Regions from separate parts of the Homo sapiens genome. Here regions 1, 2 and 4 are each linked to region 3. The links are contacts of gene promoters, found by promoter capture Hi-C in human tissues and cell types (Jung and others, 2019). All regions are on one chromosome and are shown on one strand. Each heading gives the region's core, a stretch centred on a gene start or on the middle of the fragment in contact. The rest is flanking DNA. Distances are from core to core; before and after follow the strand shown. Region 1 overlaps MYORG (myogenesis regulating glycosidase). Region 2 has its middle 15 kb from the start of DNAJB5. Region 3 holds the start of IL11RA (interleukin 11 receptor subunit alpha). Region 4 overlaps PHF24 (PHD finger protein 24).

Region 1 (6,798 bases), core at 3,100-5,599, 280 kb before region 3:
CAGTGGGGTCTCTGTGTGGGGGCTTCCCCTTCCACATTGCCTTAACAGAGGTTCTCCATGAGGGCCTCACTCCTGTAGCAAACTTCTGCCTGGACATACATGCATTTCCATACATTCTCTGAAATCTAGGCAGAGGTTCCCAAACCTCAGTTCTTGACTTCTGTGCACCTGCAGGCTCAACACTACGTGGAAGATGCCAAGACTTGGGGCTTGCACCCTCTGAAGCCAAGGCCTGAGCTGTATCTTGGCCCCTTTTAGCCATGACTAGAGCAGCTGGGATGCATGGTACCAAGTCCCTGGGCTGCACACAGCAAGGGGACCTTGGGCCTGGCCCACAAAACCATTTTTTCCCTCCTAGGCCTCCAGGCCTGTGATGGGAGGCACTGCTGCAAAGGTCTCTGACATGCCCTGCAGACATTTTCCCCATGTCTTAGTGATTAACATTTGGCTCCTTGTTACTTATGCAAATTTCTGCAGGGGGCTTGAATTTATCCTCAGAAAATGGGTTTTTCTTTTCTATCTCATCATCAGGCTGCAAATTTTCCAAACTTTTATAGTCTGTTTCCCTTTTAAAACTGAATGCTTTTAACAGCACCCAAGTCACCTCATGAATGCTTTGCTGCTTAGAAATTTCTTCTGCCAGATACCCTAAATCATCTCCCTCGAGTTCAAAGTTCCACAAATCTCTAGGGCAGGGGCAAAATGCAGCCAGTCTCTTTGCTAAAATATAGCAAGAGTCACCTTTACTCCAGTACCAAACAAGTTCCTCATCGCTATCTGAGACCAACTCAGCCTGGATTTCATGTCCCAATCATTATCAGCATTTTGGTCAAAGCCATTTAACAAGTCTCTAGGAAGTCCCAAACTTTCCCACATTTTCCTGTCTTCTGATCCCTCCAAACTGTTCCAACCTCTGCCTGTTACCCAGTTCCAAAGTTGCTTCCACATTTTTGGGTATTTACAGCAGCGCCCCACTCTACTGGTACCAATTTACTGTATAGGTTCATTTTCACAGTGCTGATAAAGACATAACCAAGACTGGGTAATTTATAAAGAAAAAGAGGTTTAATGAACTCACAGCTCCACGTGGCTGGGGAGGCCTCACAAGCATGACAGAAAGGCACGTCTTACATGGCGGCAGGCAAGAGAGAATGAGAACTAAGCAAAAGGGGAAACCTCTTATAAAATCATCAGCTCTCATGAGATCTATTCACTATCACCAGAACAGTATGGCGGAAACTGCCCCCATATTTCAATTATCTCCCACTGGGTCCTTCCCACAACACATGGCAATTATGGGAGCTACAATTCAAGATGAGTTTTAGGTGGGGACACAGCCAAACCATATCAGGTGGGGAAACGGATGCATTCTCTAGGGGGTAGGGGACTGGTTTTGCTACCAGAGCTGTTGATGGAAGCTAAAGTTCACCCTGTTTCCCACCGACCCGCTCTGGCATGCCACTTTTCTCCAGACTCAGCTGCAAAGTCAGAAAAAACTCACTCCGGCTGAGGTTGCTCTTCTTAGAAAGAGAAAATGGCTGGCGTGGTGGCTCATGCCTGTAATCCCAACACTTTGGGAGGCCAAGGTGGGTGCATCACTAGGTCAGGAGTTTGAGACTAGCCTGGCCAACATGGTAAACCCCATCTCTACTAAAAAATACAAAAAGCCAGGCATAGTGATGCATGCCTGTAATCTCAGCTACTCAATCGCTTGAACCTAGGAGGAGGGGTTGCAGTGAGCTGATTGTGCCACTGCACTCCAACCTGGGTGACAGAGCAAGACTCCATCTAAGGGGGGGCGGGGGGAAGAGAAAATGGCTGAGATGAAAGACCTTCCCCTGTCTGTTTATTGGTAGTTGTCAGTGTGTGCATGTAGCCTGTGTTCAGAAGCACAGACCACCAGAGTAAGAACATCACTCCCTTCTAGGCCACACCCCAGGCACATGTGCAGGGGGTGAGGCAGCTGAGGAATCTTGAAAGGGCTATTTATTTCCTACGAGAGTCCTGGGGAAACCGCCTGGGAGGAGGCTGGCTCAGCAATCAGAGCCTCAAATTTGCTCCATGCCCCCTTCCTCCAGATCATCCAGCCTCAGAGAGGTTGTGTTCATTTCATAGATCAGGGACCCATGATGCGTGTTTCTCTCTCTCTCTCTCTCTCACACACACACACGCACACTCTTCAGTTAAGGCACGAAGTCTGGCCTGCATGGCCCTGCAAGTCTGTTCCCATCAGGCACATTTGGCCCAGGGCTGAGCCCATGTATGTACACAAATGGGTTAGTGCAGTGTTAGGAGTCTCTTCACAAATTGGGAACATGATGATGGCTCTGTGCTAAGCCCAGTCCTCCTGTTCCCTGGGAGGGGATCTCTTGCCTCCTTGTCAGCCAAACACCTCCCCAGCTGGACTGGGACCAAATCAGCCACAGTTCAGGTGAGTGCTGGGGACTCAGGGCCTGGCTTCTAACACTAAGAAAACACACGTTCTAAGTGTGGTGGGGGCTATTTGGAGACCTTAAATAAGATCAAGTCCCCACCTAAGATGGACAAAGATGGCCACGAAAGCCAGGAGGGGGAGGTTTCTCTTTGTGCTTTTAAACCCCAACCATGTATAACCATGTATAACAGGAAGAGAGCTGACCTTTTTCCTCTAAGCTCTCTGGCTTCCACCCCAGGGAAGAGGTTTCTGCAGATTGGTGTGAGTGTGGGGGTGGAAAGGGCACAGTAAGGATTGTGCGTTGGAGCAGGAGATTGCTTCAGTGCCCCCTCCCTAGGCCCCACCTTCAGCAGCTGGTTCCAGCACATTTAAGTCAGCAGCCACTTAATGGGTGGTATAGAGGTGGGAGGTTCCTGGGAGTACATGGTGCGGGTGTGACGGAGGGTTCAAGGTCTGCATGAAGACTGGGGGCTTTGCGGTTACCGGGCCCTGGGCTGGGTCAGGACGCCCAGGTAAAGTAGGCGATCTCATCCAGGTCGACCGGGTAATCGGTGAGCAGCACCGGCGTCTTGTCGAAAAGCTCACCCTTGTAGCTGCGCCACTTGCCGGCGGGCAAATAGACGTCGCGCTCCTGCTTGCCTGGCTCCAGCACCGGGGCCACAAGCAGCGTGTCCCCAATAAGGAACTGCGAGTCGATACGGTGAGCTGTCTCGTCGCCGGGCGCAATCCACCAAAGGGGGCGCACGATAGGGTCACCCGTGTCGGTGACCTCGCCCGCCAGCTCAAGCAACAGCGGTGCCACAAGCGAGGCCCGCAGGGCGGCGAACTTCTGCGCGATGGCCACCACTTCCGCGTCGTAGCGCCAGGGCGGGATAGAGAACTGCATGGCCGGCATAAAGGCGGCCACTTCCAGCCAGCGAATGTAGAGCTCGCGCTCGGGCACATCGCCGCCGGCTGTCCGCTGGGGCACGGCGTTGCCGCCCACCATATCGGGTAGGATGAATGGGTAGCCCAGCATGCTGACGGTGAGCACCGCGGGGATGAGTGAGCGCAACCCCAGGTCGTAGCCCCACACAGAGTCGCGATCCACCAGGCGGAAGAAGCAGGAGATGTTCTGTGACTGGTAGCCTACGCGCACCTCCGCCAGCGAGAAGAAGGGCAGCGCCATCTCAGTGTAGCGCCGGCTCCAGACGCTGGGGTCCGGCAGCGGCCGGTAGGTGCTGAAGTCCCGCGGCAGGTAGCTGACCTCGCCCGCGTCGAACTTGAAGGAAGCCACGGAGTAGCGAGAGCGCAGCCGCCGCAGGTGTCCCTGGAACCAGTCGCGGGCCTTTGGGTGCGTGAAGTCTAGCACCGCGCCGATGCCGTTCCACCAGCGCACCAGCGCAGGTAACCGGCCCGTGGGTTCGCGCACGAACAGCTCGCGCTCCACGCCCTCGCCGAAGCGCGACGAGTTGTAGTTGACAAAAGGGTGCACCCAGAGCGTGACGCGGAAGCCGGCGTCGCGCAGGCGGCGGAACATGTCGCTGGCGTTGGGGAATTTGACCTCATCGAAGTCGAAGTCGCCATAAGCAGGTGTGTACATGTCGTCGATTTCCAGGTGGCTGCTGTTGAAGTGGTGCAGGCGGATCTGTTGGGCAAAACGCAGCACCTTGTCCTGGTCCACGGCGCGCCCGTACAGCGCCCATGTGGACCAAATGGGGTCTCGGAAGGCCTCGGGTGCTGGCACCCTTGACGGCTTGTTGAAGTAGCGACGCACCATGTACTTGTGGATGGAGGTGACGTCTGAGCCCACGCACACTCGGTAGCTCAGCTCTGGCGCTGCGGCGCGGCCGGCGGGTGGCTTGTAGGGCGTGTCGTGGTAGCGCGCCTGAAGCCGCAGCGAGCGCTCCGTGCTGTTCCAGCCCAGGTGGAAGGGCACTGAGTCATTGACTTTGATGGCGGCCGCGCGCGAAGATAGCCAGTAGCGCTCGAGGATGCCCCCAAACGCGGCGTCGGAGGAGTAGACATCGCTGGTGACGAACGGCTGGGGCTCCTGCTGGCCATCCAGGCGGATGGGCCAGTGTTGCGTCCTCATCTCGGCGCCACCATACCAGTGGGCCGCCGCGTCGCCCAAGAACATGGCGTGCTCCACGGCCCGGCCCGGCGCTGCCTCCTCCCAGCGCACGCGGTAGCACATGACCGTGTCCTTGGGCCGCACAGTCTGGATGAAGAAGTGCAGCGGCAGCCCGTCGGCCGTGAGCGAGCAGCCCAGCAGGGCGCCATCGCGGCTGCAGGAGTCAAGGTCCAGCGCGCCGGAGCGGAAGGCCAGGCGGAAGACCTGCTCTCCCTTCTGATTGCGGATGGAGAAGCCGCCAGCTTTCAGGTCCAGCAGCTCCGCGCGAAGTCGCTCCGCCTTGCGTAGGGAGACGCTGTAGTAGCACCAGGCCACCACCGCGGCCAGCACAAGCAGCAGCCCCAGAACCGCGGAGCCCAGCAGCGGCTTCAGGTCTTTGGAAGGCTTGGGCTTGGCAGGTGAGAAGTTGTCGGGCAGGAAGGTGTACATAGCTGCGGCTGCGATGGCCTCGGGGTTCTGACGGTATGCGTAGCAGCCAGGCCGGCGGCGGCGGGGGTAGGCCTGGCTCTTCTCCTGAGGGTTCTGGAGCATTAGTGGGCTGCTAAGAAAGGAGCGGGCCGTGGGGCCATCTGACTGAGTTCATCTCAACCTGCTCTGAAAGGAGGAGACAGAGATGGAACTGAGCTATCTCATCCCATGATATTTCCATTTGCTGCCGCAAGCTAAGAGGAGGTGTATACTTTGGGAAGATGAATACTGGAACCTGAGGGCTTGAAGAGTGGCAAAGGTGAGACCCTTACCAGGACAATCTGTGCCTAACCCACCCTTTCTCATGGGACCTAATGCTTGCCCAAATTAGGACTCTGTGACTGGGGAGCGGCCCATGTGACTGGGAGATGGCACCCATCCTCATTTTCCTAGTGGAGAAACAAACCCTGAGAGGGTCAGGAAGCTTTCCAGGATCACAGGATAAGCCAGGCCTCCCCAGATCACACATGGGGCCGTTCGGGCTGAAGAGACGGGAAAGGAACTAGAAAAGTCCTGCTCTCCTAGAGGTGTGGATGGTCAGGGTGGGAGAGGGGGTATTGTCCAGCCAGCTCCTTGAGACTTTTTTTTTTGAAATGGAGTCTCTCTCTGTCACCCAGACTGGAGTGCAGTGGCATGATCTCAGCTCACTGCAATCTCTGCCTCTTGGGTTCAAGCGGGTCTCCTGCCTCAACCTCCCGAGTAGCTGGGATTAAAGGCGCACACCACCACACCTAGCTAATTTTTGTATTTTTGGTAGAGACAGGGTTTCACCATGTTGGTCAGGCTGGCTTCGAACTCATGACCTCAAGTGATCCACCTGCCTCAGCCTCCAGAAGTGCTGGCATTACAGGCGTGAGCCACCTCGCCCAGTCCCCCTTGAGACTTTTAACAGGGCGGTAGGCTAGCTTCCCTGTCCCCAGAGGGGGAGAGGAGGGAGGAAGGGAGAACAGCTCAGGGATGTGTTTTTATCCTGAGTCAAAAGCCTGATGAAGTCTGGAGATTGAAGAAGACACCCAAAGCCAGACTTAGTCCCAGGGCCTGGTTTGGAGGGAGGTAGAGTTGGGTTCAGACATTAGGGCCTGGGGCAGGAGCCTGGCATGGGGGGCCAGTTGTTTCTCACATCTGCTTCTCTTTGCCCTCAAACTCACCCTGCTCTCAGCCATCATCCATCACCAAATCCATTTCCATGCCTGCCTTCCTGCTTTGCTCCTGGCACCACATCTGTGGGCCAGCTACTTCCTCGCTCTGTTTCACCCACTGTCCTGTTTCTGTCATAGTTTGGGCACTGTCACTTCTCCCCTGTATTACCAAACGCTTCCCCCAACAGGCCTCTCTGACTCTAACTTCTTTCTCACCAGTGCCTTCTGATCACGGCAACCATAGTGATCTTTCTAAAGCACTTATCAAACCATATCTATCCCTAGCTTCGAGAGCTGCTCATTGCTTCCATGATGAAATTTAAAAGTGTTTGCTTTGCACTGGAGGCTCCAGGCATGATGTGTTCTCAGCTACCATTCTGATTCCATTTCCAGCCAAGCCTATCTTGTGATTACCAAGCTCGTTCCTTCCCCAACCTAAATCCTTTAGGCCACCTGCTTCAGGAGATTTCACCCACCTAGCTTGGCCCAGCGCACCTCCTCCACCTACCTGCTCTCCAGGGATCAGACACCCACCACTACCACTAACACACATAAACTCTGACACACTATATGCTAAATATCCAGATATGAGGCCATGCACGGTGCTCATGCCTGTAATCCTAGCACTTTGGGAGGCCAAGGAG
Region 2 (6,963 bases), core at 1,980-4,479, 350 kb after region 3:
ACAATCATTTGCTCATCTTGTATGACAGTAATATCCCCTTAAGGCTTGGCCATCCTGGATCTTGGGCAACCAGTATTCTTGGTTGGGGAGTATTCCTTAGTCACCGGAGCTCCTTGACTACTCAGATAGGCATTTATCTCCTGGACATCTTCCTGTTGTGGCTTAGGAACTGAAGTCTCTTTGGACTTCCTACCTCCCTGTCTTCTTCGGCTCTTAAAGAAATACCTAATCTCCCATATCCTTTTCCTAAAGAAAAAACTCCAAGAAGATGCTATGCTCTGTGGTGAGCCCCTTCTGCCTCCAGACAATGCTCCTCCATGGCCAGAGTCTGTTGGGATACAACTCCACTCTCATCTGTTGGGTGTGTCCTGCCTTTGTCTAACTTGAAGTAACTCTGGACTGCCTCTCTTGGCCCTCAAATAGTCCCACTCTGACACGACTTGTCCATGGAGAGGGCAAAAGGAGCTAAAAAGTTTGTTTGCTCTCCTCCTTGAACTCAGGGTCCTCTGGACTTCCTTGCTCACAGTTGAGGAGGCAGGGAAAGGACTTCCAGGGTGGGGGTTGAATTTCTTGTGATCAGCTTATCTCCCGACCTGCCTGTTTGTTTCAAGGAACTAAGCAACCTCAATTTAGCCATCCCTGAAACATGGGTGGCTGAGGGATAAAGGTGGACTTGGGAAAGGAGCCATGATTGGGTCTCTATCACCTTAAGTTTTACAGATTCAGAGACTTTAAAGAGGTAAACTCTATCTCTGCCATGCTCAAAACCATACCACTTAGGCTTCTAGTGCCTGTGTAGCACCTGCATCAAGAAAGGAAAGCTTCCAAGAGGTATTTAGGCAGTGTTCCTGCACTGAGGGTGCCAAATTTCCAGTTTTCAAGTAGCTATAGGACTTCCCAGAAGGGAGCAATATATCACTGTCAGCAAGCTATGAACAACACACATATATAGGCCACCTGCCCAAGTGAACTTTCAGGGTGTTTTCCAGTTGCTTCCAGTCTAGGTTCTCTCTTGAATGCATTTATGTCATTTCCTGACCCATTCCTTGAGTGACTCAACAAGTCATTTTTTTTGGTCTCCTCTGATGAATCAGCCCCCAAAACCCCTACTGAGTAGCTTTCTGAACACCTTGATAGGTTACCTTTGGGACTCTTTCTCAGGCTATGCCTCAGACCCTTCCCTAGGTCATTCTGAAACTTGGCGGGGGGCCCCTCATATGGAAGCTTCTTGGGTGCCCAATCAATTCTTCCTTAGACCCTTGCTGCTTTGACCCATAAGTACCTTGAGGGCTGTAAGAATCTATGATTGTTCCTTAGCTGAGATGTGTCTGTTATTTGCCCTGAGGCTGCATCGGCACCAAAAGCTCTTGGATCCTCTAGGCCAGGACCCACTAGTGCTACATGAGCCTCTTTCAAAAGCAGTGCTCTAGTTGGTTCCAAATATTATTGCTTATAGGAAATTCTCTAGGAAGAATAGAAAATGGCACATAGTCCTGGGAGGCCAGGCTGTACTGAACAAGGTTGGGAGATGGAAGACAAAATTCTTCCTAAGATCTCTGAATTACAGAGTAAAAACTAGAAATTCTCAACAAATGTTGAGCTTCAATTGGGGTGACAGACTATACCTCATTCTGCGTCCTAGGAAAGGATACCCCAGAAGCCTTAATCTGGGGTGAAAAAGAAAGTAATAGGAGCAGGAATGAGGATTGAAGGTGGGCCCAAGGTAGGTGCTGGGATGAAACAGAGTTTGGGGCTGGGGGAGCAGTGGGGAACCTTTAGCCTGTATTTAAACCAGAAAGTGAAAGTGGGCATTAGAGATTCTACTGACTAAAACAAAGAGAGACTCCAGTGCAAAATAATCACCAGAAGTCAGGACAGTAGCCACCAGGGCCTCACTGTGCAGAGGTGAGACTCCAGGAGAGATGGTTCCATCCCCCAAGATTTTGGAATTTGGGAGCTGCTGAGGATGTGCAGCTGCTCTGGTTTGTCTTTGGTGCTCCACAGTGGTTGGGAGCCTATGTTGTCCTGTATGCCAGCAAGTGACTCTAAAATAGTTCCAGAAAAATTTATGTATATACCCCTCCAGCAAAGACTGGTAGACTCATTGGGTGCAATCACTTAATGAAACCTCTGTCTAGTCTTTGGCTAAGCTAGCCAAGCAGACACTTCAGTGGCCACACACAACAAAAAAAAATACACAATTTACACAATTAGTAAAGTCACGACACAAGCAAACAACAATGACAAATAGCAACAACAAAGCTTGGGGTCGGGGTGGGGAGTCTGATTTCCAGAAATGCCACATTATACTTGCCAGGCCTCTGAGCCCAAGCTAAGCCATCATATCCCCTGTGACCTGCATGTACACATCCAGATGGCCGGTTCCTGCCTTAACTGATGACATTCCACCACAAAAGAAATGAAAGTGGCCTGTTCCTGCCTTAACTGATGACATTATCTTGTGAAATTCCTTCTCCTGGCTCATCCTGGCTCAAAAGCTCCCCTACTGAGCACCTTGTGACCGCCCCCCCTGCCCGCCAGAGAACAACCCCCCTTTGACTGTAATTTTCCTTTACCTACCCAAATCTTATAAAACGGCCCCACCCCTATCTCCCTTGGCTGACTCTCTTTTCGGACTCAGCCCGCCTGCACCTAGGTGAAATAAACAGCCTTGTTGCTCACACAAAGCCTGTTTGGTGGTCTCTTCACACAGACGCGCATGAAATTTGGTGCTGTGACTCAGATTGGAGGACCTCCCTTGGGAGATCAATCCCCTGTCCTCCTGCTCTTTGCTCTGTGAAAAAGATCCACCTACGACCTCGGGTCCTCAGACCCACCAGCCCAAGGAACATCTCGCCAATTTTAAATCGGGTAAGCGGCCTCTTCTTACTCTCTTCTCCAACCTCTCTCACTATCCCTCAACCACTTTCTCCTTTCAATCTTGGCGCCACCCTTCAATCTCTCCCTCTCTTACTTTCAATTCCTTTCATTTTCTGGTAGAGACAAAGGAGACACATTTTATCCTTGGACCCAAAACTCTGGCGCCAGTCACGGACTAAGGAAGGCAGCCTTCCCTTGGTGTTTAATCATTGCAGGGACACCTCTCTGATTTTTCACCCATGTTTCAGAGGTGTCTGACCACATGGGGACACCTGCCTTGGTCCTTCACCCTTAGCAGCAAGTACTGCTTTTCTAGGGGGCAAGAACCCCCCAACCCCTTCTCTCCATGTCTCTACTCCTCTGCTTTTCTAGAGGGCAAGAACCCCCCCAACCCCTTCTCCTTCACCCTTAGCTGCAAGTACCACTTTTCTAGGGGGCAAGAACCCCCCAACCCCTTCTCTCCGTGTCTCTACCCCTTCTCTGCTTTTCTGGGGGCAAGAACCCCCGATCCCTTATTTCTGTGCCCCAACCTCTTATCTCTGTGCCCCATCCCTTATTTCCACGCCCTGACCCCTTATCTCTGAGCCCCGATCCCTTATTTCCATGCCCCGACCTCTTATCTCTGCGCCCCGATCCCTTATTTCCGCACCCCAACCTCTTATCTCTGTGCCCCGATCCCTTATTTCCACACCGCAATCCCTTATTTCCGCACCCTGACCTCTTATCTCTGCACCCCAACCCCTTATTTCTGTGCCCCGACCCCTTTCCTGCTTTTCTGGAGGGTAAGAACCCCCGAACCCCTTCCCTCCGTGTCTCTACTCTCTTTTCTCTGGGCTTGCTTCCTTCACTATGGGCAACCTTCCACCCTCCATTCCTCCTCCTTCTCCCTTAGCCTGTGTTCTTAAGAACTTAAAACCTCTTCAACTCTCACCTGACCTAAAATCTAAGCATCTTATTTTCTTCTGCAATGCTGCTTGACCCCAATACAAACTCAACAGTAGTTCCAAATAGCCAGAAAATGGCACTTTTAATTTTTCCATCCTACAAGATCTAAATAATTCTTGTCATAAATTAGGCAAATGGTCTGAGGTGCCTGACGTCCAGGCATTCTTTTACACATCGGTTCCTCCCTGGTCTCTGTTCCCAATGCAACCAGTCCCAAATCTTCCTTCTTTCCCTCCCACCTGTCCCCTCAGTCCCAACCCCAAGCATCACTGAGTCTTTCTAATCTTCCTTTTCTACAGACCCATCTGACCTCTCCCCTCCTCACCAGGCAGAGCCAGGTCCCAATTCTTCCTCAGCCTCTGCTCCCCCACCCTATAATCCTTTTATCACCTCCCCTCCTCACACCTTGTCCGGCTTACAGTTTCATTCCTCAACCAGCCTTCCCCCACCTGCCCAGCAATTTCCTCTTAAAAAGATGGCTGGATATAAAGGCATAGTCAAGGTTAACGCTCCTTTTTCTTTATCCGACCTCTCCCAAAATCAGTTAGCGTTTAGGCTCTTTTTCATCAAATATGAGAAACCCAGCCCAGTTCATGGCTCGTTTGGCAGCAACCCTGAGACGCTTTACAGCCCTAGACCCTGAAAGGTCAGAAGGCCATCTTATTCTCAATATGCATTTTATTTTATTACCCAATCTGCTCCCGACATTAAATAAAACTCCAAAAATTAAATTCCAGCCCTCAAACCCCACAACAGGACCTAATTAACCTGGCCTTCAAGGTGTACAATAATAGAGTAGAGGCAGCCAAGTAGCAATATATTTCTGAGTTGCAATTCCTTGCCTCCACTGTGAGACAAACCCCAGCCACATCTCCAGCACAAAAGAACTTCCAAACGCCTAAGTCGCAGTGGCCAGGCGTTCCCCCAGGCCCGCCTCCCCCAGGAGCTTGCTACAAGTGCCAGAAATCTGGCCACCAGGCCAAGGAATGCCCGCAGCCCACGATTCCTCCTAAGCCGCGTCCCATCTGTGCAGGACCCCACTGAAAATCAGACTGTTCAACTCACCTGGCAACCAGTCCCACAGCCCCTAGAACTCTGGCCCAAGGCTCTCTGACTGACTCCTTCCCAGATCTTCTCGGCTTAGCAGCTGAAGACTGAAACTGCCCGATTACCTCAGAAGCTTACAGGACCATCACAGATGCTCTAGGTAACTCTTACAGTGGAAGGTAAGCCGTCCCCTTCTTAATCAATATGGAGGCTACCCACTCCACATTACCTTCTTTTCAAGGGCCTGTTTCCCTTGCCTCCATAACTGTTGTAGGTATTGGCGGCCAGGCTTCTAAACCTCTTAAAACTCCCCAACTCTGGTGCCAACTTAGACAATACTCTTTTAAGCACTCCTTTTTAGTTATCCCCACCTGCCCAGTTCCCCTATTAGGCTGAGACACTTTAACTAAATTATCTGCTTCCCTGACTGTTCCTAGGCTACAGCCACACCTCATTGCCACCTTTTCCCCCAGTTCAAAGCCTCCTTCACATCCTCCCCTTGTATCTCCCCACCTTAACCCACAAGTATAAGACACCTCTACTCCCTCCTTAGCAACCAATCATCCACCCCTTACCATCTCATTAAAACCTAATCACTCTTACCCCGCTCAATGCCAATATCCCATCCCACAGCACACTTTAAAAGGATTAAAGCCTGTTATCACTCACCTGTTACAGCAAGGCCTTTTAAAGCCTATAAACTCTCCTTACAATTCCCCCATTTTACCTGTCCAAAAACCAGACAAGCCTTACAGGTTAATTCAGGATCTGCACCTTACCAACCAAATTGTTTTGCCTATCTACCCTGTGGTGCCAAACCCATATACTCTCCTATCCTCAATACCTCCCTCCACAACCCATTATTCTGTTCTAGATCTCAAACATGCTTTCTTTACTATTCCTTTGCACCCTTCATCCCAGCCTCTCTTCGCTTTCACTTGGACTGACCCTGACACCCATCAGGCTCAGCAAATTACCTGGGCTGTACTGCCACAAAGCTTCACAGACAGCCCCCATTACTTCAGTCAAGCGCAAATTTCTTCCTCATCTGTTACCTATCTCGGCGTAATTCTCATAAAAACACATGTGCTCTCCCTGCTGATCATGTCCAGCTGATCTCTCAAACCCCAACACCTTCTACAAAACAACAACTCCTTTCCTTCCTAGGCATAGTTAGATACTTTTGACTTTAGATACCTGGTTTTGCCATCCTAACAAAACCATTATATAAACTCACAAAAAGAAACCTAGCTGACCCATAGATTCTAAATCCTTTCCCCACTCCTCTTTCCATTCCTTGAAGACAGCTTTAGAGACTGCCCCCACCCTAGCTCTCCCTGACTCATCTCAACCCTTTTCATTACCCACAGCTGAAGTGCAGGGCTGTGCAGTCAGAATTCTTACATAAGGACCAGGATCACGTCCTGTAGCCTTTTTGTCCAAACAACTTCACCTTCCTGTTTTAGGCTGGCCATCCTGTCTCCGTGCAGTGGCTGCTGCCGCCCTAATACTTTAGAGGCCCTTAATATAACAAACTATGCTCAACTCACTCTCTACAGTTCTCATAACTTCCAAAATCTATTTTCTTCTTCACACCTGACACATATATTTTCTGCTCCCCGGCTCCTTCAGCTGTACTCACTCTTTGTTAAGTCTCCCACAATTACCACTGTTCCTGGCCCAGACTTCAATCCGGCCTCCCACATTATTCCTGATACCACACCTGTCCCCTATGACTGTATCTCTCTGATCCACCTGACATTCACCCCATTTCCCCATATTTCCTTCTTTCCTGTTCCTCACCCTGATCACACTTGGTTTATTGATGGCAGTTCCACCAGGCCTAATGGCCACACACCAGCAAAGGCAGGCTATGCTATAGTACAAGCCACTAGCCCACTTCTTAGAACCTCTCATTTCCTTTCCATCATGGCAATCTATCCTCAAGGAAATAACTTCTCAGTGTTCTATCTGCTATTCTACTACTCCTCAAGGATTATTCAGGCCCCCTCCCTTCCCTACACATCAAGCTCGGAGATTTGCCCCTACCCAGGACTGGCAAATTGGCTTTACTCAACATGCCCCGAGTCA
Region 3 (2,700 bases), core at 92-2,591:
GAAGGCCAGAGCCCCCTTTGCCACCACCCCTAGGGTGTCAGCTCCAAGCCTGGGCCTGAGGGTTTGATGGGGAGCGGGTGAGCTGGATCCTGATCCCAGTGGTCAGTGGCCAGATCCTGGGCTGCTGGCCAGAACCCTGGCTTTGTGAGTGGCTGCAGCTTGGCTCTGCTCCAGCCCACAGGGGCTAAAGGGGCGGGTAGGGAGTGTGTAGGGAGCGTGTACGTGGCTTTGTGTCCTTGGCTCCTCCAGACTCTCACATGTGCGGGCACCATATACTTCTGCTGCCCTTGTGCCCCAATCATTGCACAAACAGAAACAGCTCTGACAGAGAAGGGACTGCTAGAGTTAGGAACCCTAGGGCCTGGAAGGAAGGTATGGCTCTCAGAGTGACCTGGGGTCTATTCAGTCCCCTCTGGACCTGTTTCCCTGGCAACGCTGTGGGAACAACAGTCTATGCAACACAGGAGACCTGATGCCACTGGTGTCCTCCAAATTTTAAGGCGAAGGCAGGCATTGTGAATGATGCAGGGATGGCCAGAATGGTTTTTGCCTTCGTTCTTTCCCCAGGGGAACCAAGCCTGTGGGTGGGGAAATCACACTAAGGCTGGACAGTGACTGAATCTGGCCCAGGAGAAACTTGGCTGCCTGCCTTCCAGACCAGGGTTTTTCTTCCCTGAGATCCTGGAGGGGAAGTACCTGGAACTTGGGAGTGTTGCCCTGGTCTGGAAGATCTGATAGACATAGTATGCACACATTTCCCTCGAGCTTCCCATGACTGGGGAGTAGATGAGAACCCTGAGTGGGTGGCTGGTTTCTTGAGGCATACATATACCCGACACACCTTACACCTCTGATTTGGCTGCATTTTGGAATCATCTGGGAAGTTTTAAACAATACTGGTGCCTAGGTCCAACCTCCAGAGACTCTGATTTAATTGGTATGGGGTGGGGTTTTGCAGTTTTCAAACCACAATATCCAGCAAAGTTTGAGAACCACTGCCCTACACAGCCCTCCTTCTTCTTTATCTTATCTGGAGTCAGGGGCACCTTCAGCTTCTCCAATCACCTGGCCAGTGGCTCTTGTTTCCAGTCCTGCTGTTCCAGGGTGGATAGGCCTTCAGGCGGAGACCCAGGAATCCAGCTCCAGACTCTGTCCCAAGCAGCCTCTTCAGTCCGGGACGGGACAGGAAGTGTCCGGCGGAGGTGGGGGTGGAGGTGATTGGCAGTTGGAGTCTCCAATGGGCCAGGAGCCCCCCTATTTCACTCCTCTCCTTCCATTGGCGCCTGGGCGGAGCCACCCCCGCTGCGGGGGCCCAGGGCGGGAGGGAGTAGAGGCCGGGGCAGAGGGCGAGGGCGAGGGCAGAGGGCGCTGGCGGCAGCGGCCGCGGAAGGTGAGGCCTGGTGTAGACGCCAAAGTCTTGTCAGGAGTGGGCGGGGCAGGGTGATGTATGATCTGAAAGGCCGGGAGTGACTAACGACTGTCAGTGTGTATGTGCCTGTGAGGCTGTGTCTGTGTGACAGTATCATTGTGTGCGATTCTGAGTGTCACTTGGTGCAGCTGTCAGCTAATGTGACTGCGTGTGTCAGTGTGCATGGAGCTGGAGGTGCATGTGGCTGTGCAAGTGTGGGATTATGTGTGTATCTGTCAATGCACATTTTTGGTGGGACTGGGTTGTGTGTTTGTGTGAGAGGGACTGTGACCACATGAGGGAATGTGTTTTGGGAAGGTCTCTGTGGGGTTTGAGACCATGTCTGCCAGCGTGAGAGTGGGTGGCTGGCTTTGTGTGTGCCAATGTGTGACTTCAGCAGTAGCAGAGCAAAAGTGAGGTTTGTGACTATGTGTGTGTCCTGGGTCCTAACTTAAACCGTGTGGGAGTACAGCTGTATTCATGTATTGGGGGACCTACCTCAAGAGCCCATGGGACTGACCTTTCTCTTAAGTGTCCAGCATTGACAGACACACCCACAACACACGTGGCTTCCCCTCCTTCCTCTGCTCAAGAATCCCCAGCATCAGGTCTACTGCTCCTTATTTTCTGTTTCCCTGCTTGGCTCAGTTTCCCTTACGTGCCGTTTTCTGTCCCTATTGCTGTCTTACTAGAGATACCTCTGTGTGTTTCTTCACAGCTTTGTTCCCCTGGTCTCTCTGTGTGGGTGCATTTCCAGTTTTGCCTTTCCTTTCTCTCTGTCTCTCTCTGTGCCCCTATGCCTGCCTTCCCTGCTGATCTTGATCTCTGGCTAGTTGGGGGCCTGTAACAGTGATGAGATGCGGGTCTGCCCCGGCTAAGAGCTCCCTGAGAGAGGGGGCTTAGACCATGATGAAGAGTTGCTTTTAGGCGGTGCTGTGAGCCCTGGTAGGGGCTGTGTGCGTGTGTGACTGCGTGAGTGTATGAATATGTGTAAGTGTGTCTGAGTCTGAGGCGGTGTGGCTGTGCCCGTGTGACTGTGAGTGACCGCATGTGAGAGTGTATGAGTCTGAGGGTAACTGTGGGTCTTGTGTATCTGGCACCAAGGGACCAAAGGCATTTCCTGGTGCTGGGGCCCAAAGAATGGAGGGGGAGGTGAGAAATGGCTGGAACTTCCAGGGGAGGGGGAACTGGACTCTTTGGCCTCTCCTTATATCCCCCAACCTGGGGCCTCCCTTCCCCTGGAAGCACAGCCAGCTGTACCCTAAGGAAACATTTGGTGAGGAGTGAAAAGA
Region 4 (6,616 bases), core at 2,783-5,282, 320 kb after region 3:
CTGCCTACATTTACACATCCCTGTTTCCTCCTGCCATCTTTCTGCAGGTTGTCAACGATGAGATGTGTGATGTTTGTGAGGTCTGGACAGCTGAGAGCCTCTTCCCGTGCAGGGTCTGCACCAGGGTTTTCCATGATGGCTGCCTGCGCCGCATGGGCTACATCCAAGGAGACAGTGCAGCGGAGGTGACGGAGATGGCCCACACAGAAACAGGCTGGAGCTGCCACTACTGTGTAAGTCTGGACTGCAGGGACAGCAGAGGACTTGGCACTTTTCCTGGAGGCCCGGTCTTAGAACACTTGATTTTAGGCAGTGACCTAAAGAATTTTCCAATGGGCTGGGCGCGGTGGCTCATGCCTGTAATCCCAGCACTTTGGGAGGCCAGTGCCGGAAGATCACGAGGTCAAGAGATTGAGACCATCCTGGCCAACATGGTGAAACCCCATCTCTACTAAAAATACAAAAATTAGCTGGGCGTGGTGGCACGCGCCTGTAGTCCCAGCTACTCGGGAGGCTGAGGTAGGAGAATCACTTAAACCCAGGAGGCGGAGGTTGCAGCGAGCCGAAATCGCGCCACTGCACTCCAGCCTGGCGACAGAGCGAGACTCTGTCTCGAAAAAAAAAAAAAAAAAAAGATTTTTCCAATGGTACATACAAGAGACCTAGAGCTAGGATGGGGTTTCTCAACCTCAGTACATTTTAGGCTGGCTAGTTACTTGTTTGAGGGGCCAAGTGCATTGTAGGATGTTTAGCGGCACCCTGGCCTTAATCCCCTAGATGCCGGTAGCATACATCTCAATGTGAAGGTAGCAAAATCACCCCCGGTAGAGAACCTCTGAGCTAGGAGATTGACTGGGGCCTAATTACTCAAAAGTAATTCTGCTTGGAGCAGTTCTTTCTCTAATAGTCTATAGTTGTCATTCATTGTATCCATATGAAAACTAACCTGAGATCCTAACCAGCTTGCTTCCAGTAGGGGTAGATTCTATCACAGGAAAACTTCCTAGGCCTGAGATCCTCACTCAGCCTGCCACCTGACTCATAAGCATTTGCTCTTCCTCTTTGAAGTGGTTATTATGTGAATTAAATGACAAAGCTCTATTGATTCAGAACTTCGCAAATTATATATAAATGCCTTCTAACTTTTAATGAAGGACAGAGTCTAAGGTTTCCATTGAAAGCCAGATTTATATCCATTTCTCACTACACCTGAATAGAGTTCAAGTCTTGCCTTATTGATCTGTTGTCCTGCAGATATCGTCATTGTTTATTGATTTCAGAGTGAGGAGCACCTGCTGATCCCCCCTTCTTCCTGCTGCTTAGACGAAAGCAGAGATGTGCCACTTTCTAACAAATAACTCTTCCTCTATGGCTTGTTATGGAACAGCTATTTTCAGCCACTGAAACACCTGTCCCCATGGAGTACACTGCAGCAGACCCTGCTGTACCGGCGACCTTCTCTAGTGCCTGTCACCCCTTCCAAATGCCATCCTTTCATCTCGGCCACTCTGCTTTGCGGTGTGCTGCTGCTATAGGACTGGGGTGAAGGGGTCACCTCCCTAACCCCCAGGAACACACTGCTCCCTCCCCAGCTTCCTGACACAGTCCTACCATCATTGCCACCATGCTCCACTGGGCTTTTTACAGAGCCTCCTTCCAAGTACCTCTCCTTTCTTTCCTTCCCTTCACAGCCAACAAATCTTCTTCTTCTTTTTTTTCTTTTTATGAGACAGGGTCTCACTGTGTCACCTGGCTGAAGTGCAGTGGTGCGATCGTAGCACTGCAGCCTTGAACTCCTAGACCTAAGCAATCCTCCTGCCTCAGCTTCCTCAGTAGCTGGGACTACAGGCACAAGCCATTGCACCTGGCCCCACAGCCAAACTTCTTAAAAGAATTTCACCATCTCCTATGGTTTTTCAACCACCTATCATATAATCTGACATCTGCATCCATCATTCTGCAGAACTGTTGCTTCCTAAGGTCACCAGTCACCTCCTAATTGTCAAGTCCACTGACCTTTTCTGAGGCATCTTCTTACTTGATCTCTCTGAAGTATTTATTACTTCTTTATTCCTCTCTCTTTTCTTTAGGATTTAAGTATTTTTATGAGAATTATTGCATAAGATATGGAAATGAGAGAAAATAGAAAGTCAATAAAATCCCACCTCAGTGGTGTAACCACCGTTAACATTACCTCCCACATTCTGCAGCTGTCTTTGCTTGGTATCCAGTACCTTCTTCTCTACTGATGCTCTTCCAGCCTTAGTCTCTGACCATTCTTTCTCAATGCCCTTTGTTAGTTTCTTGTCTCAGTCCTGTTTCTCAGGGTTCTGTTGTTTAATACTCTTCTTTTCTCACTGCGCCCTCTTTGGTGACTTCATCTACAGCCACCATCTAAACACTAATGACTCCTATTTCTGTGTGTCCAGACCTAAATTTCCTGTCTCTTGCACTTATCCACCTTGATATCTCACAAGTACTTCACACTCATCATGCCCCAAAATGAACTCATCTTTGCCCCCAAACCTGCTCTTCCTCCACTCCTTATCTCTGTGAATAGTAATACCATGCCCCAGTTACCAATTCCAGTTCAATCTCTCCCTCATGCCTCACATCCAGTGAGTCATCAGGTCCTGATGATGCTGCCTCTAATATCTCTCTTCCCTTCTTCATTCTCATGTCTCAGTTTAGCTGCTCATCATTTCTTGCCTGGACTGTTGCGGCAGCCCCCAACTGCTCTCCACACCTCCAGACTCTGCCGCTCTAATCCATCTTCCACACAGCAGCCAGAGATCTGACCACGGCACTCCCCACTTGAAAACCCTTTGGTGGCTCCCTTTTGCCCTCAGAATAAAGGCCTAATTTGAGGGGCTCGATAAAGGGTATTGGAGGTACTTCATAGTAGGCCCCCTCCTTCCCTCACACACACACTCACATGTACTCCAAACCTCAGCCACACTGAACATCTCACAGTGTTACACACCACTGTGGCGCCCAGTGTTTACTAGGTGCTCAGTAGGTGTTTATTGAAAGTATGGTTTGAAAGAAAAATACAACTATTATATATTAGTTTTTAAAAAGTGTTATGGAAGAAAAAGAATGGTTTGAGTTCTTTATGAAATCCACGTATGAATACTCATGAAATATCTGCTCTTGTACTTTGCGGGTATCTCAGAGGAAGAAAATGACCTTGTACTAGAAAGGATCTTTGATAGTTTAAAGACTGTATGGTAACGTCAACACAATAAGATATTGGTGCTCCTTTGGAATTAAAACTTCTGTGGCACTACAAAAAAACTCATTTGGCTTTAGGAGCCTTGTAATAATGGCATCTTTTAAAACCATTCTGGGGTTATTTAAAGTGATACAACCCACTTGGAGCAGAGCTAGGATTAAACTTTTTTTTTTTTTAACTAAAATACATTTTTAGCACAGCCTAACACAGAAGCCAAGTAGATAAAAGGGATGGAGATGGAGCCGCTCTGCTTGATGGAGATAGGGATTCACAACCTGCCTACTCACTAGCCCCCTTATTCCCTGCAGCAGCTTCCTAAGGCACTTCCAAGAAATCCCTAGGTTAGCTCAGAGGAGAAAACCACTGTTTTAGTAAAGGGACTCAGTGCTGGAGTCAGGATATCTGGGTTCTTGGGGAAGATTCTGCCCCAGAGTAAAGACAACTCTGGCCAAGTCCTTTCTCCTCTCTGGGGCCTCAATCTCATTGATTGTGAATAGGAGGCTGGGATTAGATGATCTTGGAACTGCTTTCCAGTTGAAATTCTATTTCTAGCCCCCTTGACCCTGGCCTTTCTTACTGGCCTGTATGGCCACCGACTCAGCTCTTCCTTATTTTCAGGACAACATCAACTTGCTGCTTACTGAGGAGGAAATGTATAGCCTCACGGAGACCTTTCAGCGGTGTAAAGTCATCCCTGGTAAGGTTGGGTGGTGCTGCATGGATGGAGAGGGGCCGGGCAGATTTCTCCTTCAGGCTTTCTAGAATGAACCATGAAAGGAGTGTTCCATATTTAGTGGGTAGAGGGTAAATGAGTCCTTGTTCCTGAGTTGTTGGCCAGCAGAGTCACCTATCCCTGTCACAGCCTGGGTGACCCTGGCCATGGGAGGCAGAGACTTAGCAAGAGCTGTGGGTTTGGGGGCCCCGAGGGTGCCCTGGAGGTGATGGAGGTGCCCTGAGGCTGAGGAAGGATGGGCATGGCTAGCACGGGGTGCCTCCCACAGATTGCTCCCTGACACTGGAGGACTTTCTGCGTTACCGCCACCAAGCAGCCAAGCGGGGGGACCGTGACAGGGCCCTGAGTGAGGAGCAAGAAGAGCAGGCGGCCCGCCAGTTTGCTGCCCTGGACCCTGAACATCGAGGCCACATAGAGTGGCCTGACTTCTTGTCCCATGAGTCCCTCCTGCTTCTGCAGCAGTTGCGTCCCCAGGTGAGGGCCAGTTGGGGCAAATGTTCCTGGGATACTGGGTGACAAGGGCCTGGGAGGCACGCTGGGCAGATTGGGGGAGCACTGGGTCCTGCTCAAGCAGGGACAAGTATCAGGAATGGGCTCAGGTTCCATCCAGTGACAGATGATCTGGTGCCCAGGCTGAGGAAACTGCGTGAGGAAGACTGATCTGCCCTGGGCCGCACTGGAAGTGCTGATGCCTCCAGAAGGGCTCTGGGCAGCTTCTAAGGGAGGTTGCAAAGGTGGTAATGGAGATAGGATTCTCTATGGCTTGGCAGTTTACAAGATATCTTCACCTCTAAGATCTTGTCTCTTCTTCCCCAGAACTCTCTGTTGAGGCTTCTGACAGTGAAGGAGCGGGAGCGAGCCCGAGCCGCCTTCCTGGCTCGGGGCAGTGGGAGCACCGTCAGTGAGGCAGAGTGCCGCCGGGCCCAGCACTCTTGGTTTTGCAAACGGTTCCCAGAGGCTCCTTCCTGCAGTGTCAGGTCTGCTCCTTACCAGTCCTGGTCCCCACTCAGCCTCTCCTCCTCCCTTTTCCATGCCAGTGGCCCTTCCATACCTCCCTGCTCCCCCTGCCAACAGCCGAGAGAGGAGCCTCCTGTGCATTAGGTAGAGGATGGTGATGCCTACGGGCCAGGGCATAGGACAGCCTCTGCCTTCAACTCGGTGTTGCCACATGTCAGAAGAGCCTGGATGAGCATGTCCAGAGCCTTGGGCTTACCAGAGTTTGGGAGGGGGCAGGCATTTCACTATCCCACTCCTAACCACGTGTCCTCATGCCCAGCAGCATCAGCCATGTGGGTCCCATCGCAGATAGCAGCCCAGCCAGCAGCAGCAGCAAGAGTCAGGACAAGACCCTGCTGCCCACAGAGCAGGAGTCCAGGTGAGTAGGACCTCCTCACCTGGCCATTTGTACCCTCTGAACCCCCACAAAACACACAAGTAAGAGAGGGCATTACCCACTCCCACTCCAAAACAGCAAGCGCCCACCCAAGAAACCAGGCTCCAAGAGTGCACATTTGACCCAAGTCTATAGGACCAGCCAGCTGGTCTGTTGGCCTGGTAGCACAGCCAGCCATAGCCAGGTCAGGCATGAGCCAAGCTTCCCTGAGTTTTGTGTAGCTCAAGCCATGCTGCCCCTGGGATCAGGGCTCACGCGTCTTCAAACCAGCCTCCTCAAGCCATGCTGCCCCTGGGATCAGGGCTCACGTGTCTTCAAACCAGCCTCACGACTCTGTTCTTTGCTTCCACTCCAGATTTGTGGACTGGCCTACCTTCCTGCAAGAGAATGTCCTCTACATCCTGGCTGCTCGCCCCAACAGCGCAGCCATTCACCTGAAGCCCCCAGGATAGCATGGAGCAGAGAAGCTCGGTTTGAGGACAGTGACATCCTCTCCCTCCTTTCCTTTCTCCCTTCCCCCACCAACCTCTGGCACAGAGACTCATGGGGTTGGGACACTGCCAGCGTCTTAACTTGTCACTAAGCTTTAAGGCACTGAAATCACCATTCCCCTCACAATAGAGGCAGTGAATGCATTGCCACAAGGAGAAGCCCTGGGAGCTGTGGCAGCATCCTCTCCTGGACCGCCCCTGCCCCACATCATAGACGGGACCTGCCACCACACTTATATACATGTGCACATGCTGCCCAGCTGTCCATGCCTTCAGAAGCCTGGTTCTTTTTGGTTGAGAAAGGACCAAAGTCCCTTTGTGAAGCCCCTGGTATAGAGGAGGGGGTCTCTACTCACCCCTTCTATAGGCAGGCCAGTTCTAATTTCCAATAGATAAGTCTCTGGCCAAGTGATTCTTAGGAAGGGGGCATGTCAGACTCGCATGCCTGCCTAGAGCTCCTGGAGATCCTAATGGGCCCCGCTTTCTCCACCAAAAATCCCTTCTGCAGTCAGCTGCTGTTACTAGTAGGTGTGCATTATGTACCTCGGCTGTACTGAGTTGGGAAAAGAGTTAAACATCACCACTGAAATTCAGCCCTTTATTTATTTAAATTCCAATTCCTGGTGACAGAAAAGGCAACTAGCCTGGAGAATCCTGACTGGAAGAGGGGGAGGCAGCCCTTCCCAGGGACTCGGGATTCTAGGAACCTCTCAGTCAGGTCACCTGAGTCCAAAAGTCTTTAGCAGGGTAGTCAAAAATCAAGG

The links. Contacts are between HindIII fragments. The study calls those that stand out against the background at their distance.
Region 1: a fragment that was not itself captured here is called in contact with the fragment with the promoter of IL11RA in region 3 in 1 of the 25 tissues and cell types used here (dorsolateral prefrontal cortex).
Region 2: a contact is called between a fragment that was not itself captured here and the fragment with the promoter of IL11RA in region 3, in 2 of the 25 tissues and cell types used here (dorsolateral prefrontal cortex and mesenchymal stem cells).
Region 4: a fragment that was not itself captured here is called in contact with the fragment with the promoter of IL11RA in region 3 in 1 of the 25 tissues and cell types used here (dorsolateral prefrontal cortex).

Annotation. Positions count from the first base shown.
Region 1 is chr9:34,367,866-34,374,663 of GRCh38, forward strand. MYORG (myogenesis regulating glycosidase) reads right to left here. Exons shown (of 2, transcript NM_020702.5): 2 at 1-5,141. The coding sequence starts at 5,078. The coding sequence ends at 2,934. Among named protein-coding and RNA genes, the nearest start is that of MYORG, 5.6 kb to the right of the region's middle. RefSeq lists enhancers at 3,963-4,463, 4,464-4,964. The HindIII fragment of the contact is 4,230 bases long and covers 2,235-6,464 here.
Region 2 is chr9:35,000,982-35,007,944 of GRCh38, forward strand. It overlaps the pseudogene LOC100420114. Among named protein-coding and RNA genes, the nearest start is that of DNAJB5, 15 kb to the left of the region's middle. RefSeq lists an enhancer at 2,343-2,843. The HindIII fragment of the contact is 4,415 bases long and covers 1,023-5,437 here.
Region 3 is chr9:34,650,844-34,653,543 of GRCh38, forward strand. IL11RA (interleukin 11 receptor subunit alpha) reads left to right here and starts at 1,342. Exons shown (of 13, transcript NM_001142784.3): 1 at 1,342-1,390. GALT (galactose-1-phosphate uridylyltransferase) reads left to right here. Exons shown (of 11, transcript NM_000155.4): 11 at 1-192. RefSeq lists a silencer at 1,298-1,397. The HindIII fragment of the contact is 13,062 bases long and covers 1-2,700 here.
Region 4 is chr9:34,972,299-34,978,914 of GRCh38, forward strand. It overlaps PHF24 (PHD finger protein 24), which reads left to right. Exons shown (of 8, transcript NM_015297.3): 3 at 48-233; 4 at 3,854-3,932; 5 at 4,237-4,442; 6 at 4,785-4,945; 7 at 5,248-5,343; 8 at 5,717-6,616. The coding sequence ends at 5,813. Among named protein-coding and RNA genes, the nearest start is that of DNAJB5-DT, 14 kb to the right of the region's middle. The HindIII fragment of the contact is 7,622 bases long and covers 222-6,616 here.